Regions from separate parts of the Homo sapiens genome. Here region 1 is linked to region 2. Evidence: promoter capture Hi-C in human tissues and cell types (Jung and others, 2019). All regions are on one chromosome and are shown on one strand. The core of a region is centred on a gene start or on the middle of the fragment in contact, and the rest is flanking DNA. Distances in the headings are between cores, read along the strand shown.

The links. The method cuts DNA at HindIII sites, captures the fragments that hold promoters and counts their contacts. A contact is called where the count stands out against the background at its distance.
Region 1: a fragment that was not itself captured here is called in contact with the fragment with the promoter of C11orf24 in region 2 in 1 of the 25 tissues and cell types used here (aorta).

The regions. Positions count from the first base shown.
Region 1 is chr11:69,050,866-69,054,815 of GRCh38, forward strand. It overlaps TPCN2 (two pore segment channel 2), which reads left to right. Exons shown (of 25, transcript NM_139075.4): 2 at 3,168-3,232; 3 at 3,856-3,932. Among named protein-coding and RNA genes, the nearest start is that of TPCN2, 3.9 kb to the left of the region's middle. RefSeq lists enhancers at 471-1,045, 2,196-2,769, 3,444-3,573. The HindIII fragment of the contact is 3,678 bases long and covers 1-3,263 here.
Region 2 is chr11:68,270,645-68,274,218 of GRCh38, forward strand. C11orf24 (chromosome 11 open reading frame 24) reads right to left here and starts at 1,329. Exons shown (of 4, transcript NM_022338.4): 1 at 1,213-1,329. LOC105369363 (a long non-coding RNA gene) reads left to right here and starts at 1,458. Exons shown (of 3, transcript XR_950248.3): 1 at 1,458-1,532. RefSeq lists silencers at 1,127-1,526, 3,406-3,465 and an enhancer at 1,438-2,292. The HindIII fragment of the contact is 13,528 bases long and covers 1-3,574 here.

The DNA.
Region 1 (3,950 bases), core at 175-2,674, 780 kb after region 2:
GCTCTGCTGGGCAGTGTGGCTGACAAGAGGAGGCTCTCGGGGAGCGCTCTTTGTCCCTATGCTGTGGCCTCAGCCAGGGCTTCTGAGAACGTGGACAGGACGCTCTGTGTTCTGAATCCCCTTGGCCAGGGTCCCCAGCAAGGACTGGCAGACTATGGAGCCATGGAGACTCCGAAAGGCTCATTCAGTCTCTGTGCTGAGGCCTGTGCCAGGCTTTGAAATGAAGGCCCTGTGCTCTGGTTTGCAAGTCCTGTGGTTGGTCTCTTGCCAACGGGTTGTGGTGAGGGCTGCTGCTGTGGGTGCCCCAAGGACCCCAGTGGACCCTGCTGTTGGGTCGTTTTGACTTGGCCCCACCTGATGGGGCCGGGGTCAAAGGTTGAGAACAGTTGTTTTCTCTTGTTGCTGGGTCAGAAAAATCACACTTTTACTGGTTATCAAACAAGTCAGAGGACAAGGGATTGCGATGCTGTAGAGGCTTTCAGAGTAACTGAATGCTTATGAAGGGCTCACTTAGCAAAGTACTCTGGCTATAGTAAGTCATTCAGTCTGTACTTAGCTCCTATTGGGTGGGGGTCCATGAGGACCTGGAGCACCTAGAGGTTAAGGGACTTGCCCAGGGTCACAGAGGATGATGGTCAGGACCCTACACAGGTTGTGCAGCCTGGAGCCTGGAGCAACAGGGGAGCGGGAGCTCAGACCTGGATGTTGCGGGGCAGAGGCTTGGATTAGGAAGCCGTGTCGAGGCCTGGTGTGCCGGATGCAGCATCTCAGCCCCTGCTGTCCTCTGTGCCTTGCAGAACCCTTCAGCCCCAGTGGGTGATGGTGTGTGGAAAGGTGATTGTCCCCCAGGGTGATGAGCTCAGGGCGGGGCGAGCTGTCCCAAGGGAGTCCCTGGACTCACAAATTGGGGGATGGTGCTCCTGGCAGAAGCAGCAGCCTGAGTAAAGGGTTGGAGGCTTTGGAGAGCATGGCCTTGGCAGAGCCCAGTTCGGAATGAGTGGCACTGAGGGTTGAAAGGCAGGAGAGAGGCGGGCCGGCAAATGTGGGAACCTGCAGTGCCAGACCAGGGTGGAGTGTGGGCCTGGAATAGTGGGGGCCCAGGGGAAGCTGCGATGTGCTTCTGAGTGTTTGGAACGAGATCCTTGGGCTGTTGCAGGGTGAAACGGAGGATGGCCAGACCCAGAATTTTACAAACCAGCAACCAAAAAGCCAGGCGAAAGGGAACCACGAGTGCTGGATGGTTCCAGGGGTGCCCACCACTGTTGGCCTGGGATGGCTGGCCTGGGTGGATGTGAGTACTTTCCGTGGTCCTGGGGCTGGAGTGAGGCCCGGAACTCGGCCGCTTGTCTCTTGTCTAAGAAGCTTGTATCACTAGATCTCTCCTGGTAGAGATTTTGTCTTCTCCCAGGGAATCTGGTAAGGTGGGGCCTCTCAGATCACCGGCCCCCCAGGCTCCCCTCAGGGCTGTTCATTTATTCATGGGATATATCAGCTTTGAGTCCTGTGTGCTTGACTTCTGGGCTCTGCAGATACAGCAGGGAACAAAACAGTGTGGCTTCTGTTCATAGCGATCCCAGGATGTGCTCAGGGGACATAAACAGTAGCCACTTTCAGAGCTTCCCTGGGGAGACATTCGGGTGTCCTCAGGGTGGGTCTCGTGGCTGTGCATGTGGGCACCAAAGCCACAGGGAGGGAAGGCTCTTGCTCCCGGCAGTGCAGCAGGGCCGGGCAGAGTGAGGGTGGGGTCCGGTCTCCTGCCTCTGTCTGGGGCCCCTCACACCTCTAATCCGTCCAGGGCCCAGCTGCCTATACCTCATGCCCCCAAGCAGGAGCCCCGAGGACAGGGGCAGCTGCCTCCCTAAGGATGGCCAGTGGCGTGGGCGGGTCATGGCCTGGAGCTCTGCCTGGGGACCAGCACCTCCTGAGGCCTCTGCTGCTGCCTCCCATGTCACCACATTGTCTTGGTGCAGCTGTGGGCCCCAAGGGGCCAGGTGTGAAAGCCGAGTCTCAACTGAAAAAGCAGCTGCTTCACCCTCTCCCCGTGCTGGGAAGTGTCAGCCTCTCCGGGCTCCTCAGTTGCTTCGGGTTGAGTTTTCCTTCCCTGTTGGCCTGCTGGGGAGCAGCTCTGCAGCGAGGCCAGAGGTGGCCCGTGCCTACGATGCGGGTGGGTGGCCCAGGCTCCCTGCAGTGGCTCAGTGGCTGACCAGGTGCGCCCGCTGGCTGCTCTGTGGCAGGTGAGGGGCTTGTGAGCAGGCCAGGGTGCTGGGTCCTGGCTTCTGTGCCGCCTGACTTTTCCTGAAGGCCCCTCCTAGTCAGGAGCCACTGCCGCTTTTGCCCAGGCCTGCCGGGAGGCTCCACCCTGCTTGTGCTGTTGGTAAAGGCGGGCGGCCACCCTTCACCACAGAAGGCACCGGCAGAGGCTGGGGGACTCGGGCGTTCCTGCAGCTCTGACCCTGGGAGTGATTTGGGTGGGCTTGCCTGGGCCCATGGACCGGGACAGTGAGGGAATGGGACCTTGGTAGCACTCATGAAGCCTCATGGCAGTGCCTTTGGGTTCTAGATGCCAGTTCTCCCTGTCACTGTTGAATCCGAGGTCTGGTTTGATGGGGGTGGGTGGGACACTGGGTACAGTGTCCTGGCTCATGAAGACTGTGCAGGAGCCAGGTAGGGCCGAGCGGAAGAGGGGTGACAGCAGCCCCATGTACCGAGCATGCCTGGGGAGCGTGGCAGGGGGCTCTTGTGCTCCTGCGTTGCACCTCACAGTACCCTCTGGGGAGCCGATTGGGTGGCTGTAAATAGCCCCACTTGACAGAGGAGGAGCCAGCCACAGCCTTCCTGCCAGCACGTGGAGGAGCCGGGCTCTGAACCCCGACGCTGGTGCCAGGGCCCTGCAGGATGTGCCGCTTCCCACAGGCTTGCTAGTTGTGTGCGCTGCATGCGGAGGTGCCGTGCCCTGGGCCTGGCCTGTGCATTTGATGCCGAGGCACTTACCTGGTTTGGTCCCTGCCCTGGGCAGGTACATGCAGCCCCACTGCCGGGTGGAGTCATCTCTTTACAAACGGCCTTGGGAAGAACCACAGCCGGCATCTTTCCTTGATCACGGGTATCCTGGAGGGTGAGGCCATGTCATCCTGCTCGGTCACCTGATGTGTCCCCTCTGCCTGCAGGTGCCGCGGCCAGGTGGGACCTCTGCATTGATCAGGCTGTGGTCTTCATCGAAGATGCTATTCAGGTCGGTGGCACCTGCTCCCTGTGGCCGGGCCTGGGGGGTGGCCGCCCTCCGATTGGCTCGCCCCTCCAGGGGCGACTGACTGGGTCCAAGGCCTCCATTGCTGGACTGTAGGTTAAGAGAACTGAGGGTGGAGCCTCTGGGCACGGCTCTTCGTCAGTCCCCGGAGGACTTGTCTTCTGCATCCTGGACGCATTTGCTGCTTTGATGCACCGTGTTCTGAGGCCTGTTGTGGACCACCCCATTCTAGGTCCCGGGTGGGTGGGGGCATCCTGGAGGATGACACAGCTGCACGGGGCGTGGGAGGGTCAGCCTTGCACAGAGAAGAGAGAGCCTCGCAGGCAGACACGGGCACAGCTGTGCTCTCAGCAAGTGTTCCCTGAGTGTTTGCTCACGCACCCACCCACCCCGGGTGTGTGGCCTGTGAGGTCTTGTGTGTTGGGCAAACCTCGTGGTTTGTGATGGTGTGGGCCTGATGGGTCAGGGCTGGCCATGTCCACACGCTGAAGCGTCCCCTGTGATCCACAGCCTGAGACTTGGGCCTGTCTCGTGTGTGGTGTGGGGCTCGGGTCACGGCCCACCCTGCATGCACCCATGTCATGCCTCATGTGACTTTTCGCTTGTAGTACCGCTCCATCAACCACCGGGTGGATGCCAGCTCGATGTGGCTTTACCGACGGTATTACTCGAACGTATGCCAACGGTGAGAACGCACCCATGT
Region 2 (3,574 bases), core at 79-2,578:
TCCAAAGACCAATCCTGAAGCTTGGTAAAGGACTACAGCTGTTACCCCCACATTCTATCAGGCTATTAAGACTCACTCAGCCGCAACATGGCCAGGCCCCCACACCAAGTTAGGCAAGCTACAGATACCAAGGAGTAGGAACTGCAAACACAAATACAGGGCAAACTGCAGGTACCTAATCCTGACACGTCACCTGGCTGAACTTTGGTAGCAGAAGCCCAAGGAACACAGACTTATGGCTTTGTGTATATAGACATTGTCCTGTAGTCCAAAGGATGTGACTCTGTGGCAGACGGGAACCTAGAACATTGGACATTTATTATATTACATTAACTACCTTGCTTGCTTCCAGGTTTCTGGAAGTTTTGGTAACACAGCTAAATACTAGGGCCTAGTTTTTGCTAAGAACGTGGGTAGCTCTGACATTCCTTTGTCCATTAGGCAGATCCACTGTATAAATGGAAACATCTGTATTTTAAAGATTTTCCTAGCTGATTTTATCGAAATGTTAGAGATTTTCCTGGGGCGAGGGATAGCTGCAAGTTATTACAGTCAGATTTCTAAGCACGATGATTATTTCTGGTGGCAAACCATGCGTGTGGAGGCCGATTCCTCCTATCAGCCTAACGATTAAGTCAACATGCTAAGCAGCCACACGGGGGCTACTAAGTGACTCGCACGGGGGAAGCAGGCAGGGAGACAGATGGGCAGGGGAGGGAATCTGGGGCAATGCACAACCTCCACCCAGGTAGAGAGAGGGTCTGGGGGATAGGTCTGTGTCACTCAAGTAAGAGCGACACTTCTTGGGGTCCAGTCCCGTCCTGGGCTTGCCCGGGAAAGACCCCAGGACAAATTCGGCCCCCTTCCAGAGTGTCCCCATTCTGCTCCCACAATGGGACAAGCCGGCCTCTTCTCCAGTCTGGGCCCCCTTCGGCCCTCCTCCCTCCTCCTGTCTCTTGGGCCCCCAGCCATGCTCGGCCCCCAGTTGACTTCTTCAGTACCTGCATTGCTCAGCGTCTTGCACTCTGTGCGTGCCCCATCCGCCGCTCCTCCTGTCCCGTTCCTCCTGCCTCTCTCAGCCCCACTCACTCTCCCACTGCCCCTCGTGCCCCCATCCAACCCTCCTCCTGCCCCCCAACCTCTGTCTCTCAGTCCCAAGCCAGTCAGGGAGCCCTGACAGCAGCTACCCGGACGGCAGTGCGAGCCCCTTACCCGGGCGCAGCAGGCCCCCGGCGGCCTGGTGGCCCTCGGACAGTAGGAAGGAGCCTGAGGCCCGGCGCGGGGACGTGGCCGGCAGCGCAACCCAGGCAGCTCCGGGCAGCGCGCCCTGCCCGGGCCCCGCCCAAACGCCGGAAATGACGTCACGGAGGGCGGGGCGGGCCTGCTGGCCGGGGCGAAGAGCGGCTGCGGCGGGGCCTGTGGCGAACGGAGGCGAGCCGGAAGTGGGGGGGTTGTCTGCTCTCAGGCCCCGCCTCCCCGGGGCCGGCTCGGGCCACTTCTTGCGCGCTGCCAGAAGGAGCTATTTTGAGCAGGTCTGTGGCGGAAGTGGGTGTTCCCGGGTCTCTGCTGCCCAGCTGTGCCCGCTGCCGTCTTGGGGTCCCGGGGTGCGCGGGTTGGGCTGGGTGAGCTCAGAGGCACCTTGTCGGCAGCCGAGCCTGAAGAGGCGACCTCGAAACGCCTCGTGAGACCTTTCGCGGGCACACGCCCTTCGCGTTCCTCCGCTTCCTCCCACGTTTCTTCAGCCCCTGGCGGGGCGCTGGGGTGCCCGGTAGTTAAGGGTGGGGTGGCAGCGAGCGTTTCTGTGCACCCGCAGCGTGCCACGCCCGTGCTAAGCACTTTGCCTATAGAGCCAGTGGCTTAATTCTGCAATAGCACAGTGAAGAACTTCGCCTCATTTTACAGACGTGGAAACAGGCTCATCAAGTGCTCTGTAATTGTAAAACCTGGGATAACAAAGGAGCAAAACGCAATTTAGAGGCAAGTGTGTGGGACTTGACTTTGGTTAGAAATAGGCTTTGCAGGCCAGGCGCGGTGGCTCTTGCCTGTAATCCTAGCACTTTGGGAGGCCGAGACGGGCGGATTATCTGAGCTCAGGAGTTCGAGACCAGCCTGGGCAACATGGTGAAACCCTGTGTCTACTAAAATACAAAAAATTAGCCGGGCGTGGTGGCGTGCGCCTGTAGTCCCAGCTACTCGGGAGGCTGAGGCAGGAGAATTGCTTGAACCTGGGAGGTGGAGGTTGAAGTGAGCAGAGATCGTGCCACTGCACTCCAGCCTGGGCGACAGAGCGAGACTCTGTCTCCAAAAAAAAAAAAGAAAGAAAGAAATAGGCTTTGCAAGTTAGTAGTTCTGTGACTGAATCCCAGTCTGTATAAGACCCTCAGGCATCCCCCGGTCCAAACCAAAACCTGTCTGCGAAGGATGATTTCACAGGAGCAAACCAAGACTTTATTTCCAGTTTTATAACCTGCCTTGGGGTCTTCGGCTAGGAAGCTAAGAGACACAGAAAGCTGAGATTGGGCAAAGACAGGATCTACCATCCACTCCGAGCTCTGGGAGCACCTGAAATGCGATTTGATGTCACCACCACCATCCCCAGTTCAACCACAGTTCATGTGTGGAATTTAACCTGCAAAGTTGGGTTTGCTGAGACCCAACGCCGGTTGGATCATGTGAAGATCAGATCCTTTCACTATGTATTTGCTTTAATTTTTCCAACTAGTTCGGATCTAACATGAAGTACAGTATTGAGGCTCACTCCAGAAGTGAAAATATACAATCGGCAGGCAGATTTTAGTTCTTTGCCTGCCCTTTTCAAAAATCAATGACTGGGCTGGGCGCGGTGGCTCACGCCTGTAATCCCAACATTTTGGGAGGCCAAGGCGGGCGGATCACCTGAGGTCAGGAGTTTGAGACCAGCCTGACCGATATGGTGAAACCCGTCTCTACTAAAAATATAAAAATTAGCCAGGCGTGGTGGCGTGTGCCTGTATTCCCAGCTACTCGGGAGTCTGAGACAGGAAAATTGCTTGAACTTGGGAGGGGGAGGCTTCAGTGAGCCGAGATCTCACCACTGCACTCCAGCCTGGGCGACAGAGCGAGACTCCTTCTAAAAAAAAAAAAAAAAAAAAAAAAAAAAATCAATGACTGTGACTCTGTTTTCATTTCCTCTTTGGCAACATAGGGACAATTTTTACTGCTGGGGCTGAAATTACAAACATAAGACACAGCCTCTCCTCTAGAGCAGCTGGGCAGCTAGACCTCCATCTGCTTGCTTTTTTTTTTTTTTTTTAGACACGGAGTCTTGCTCTGTCGCCCAGGCTGGAGTGCAGTGGCGCCATCTCGGCTCACTGTAAGCCCCGCCTCACGGGTTCACGCCGTTCTTCTGCCTCAGCCTCCCGAGTAGCTGGGACTACAGGCGCCCGCCACCACGCCCAGCTAATTTTTTGTATTTTTAGTAGAGACGGGGTTTCACCATGTTAGCCAGGATGGTCTTGATCTCCTGACCTAGTGATCCGCCCGCCTTGGACTCCCAAAGTGTTGGGATTACAGGCGTGAGCCACCGCGCCCAGCC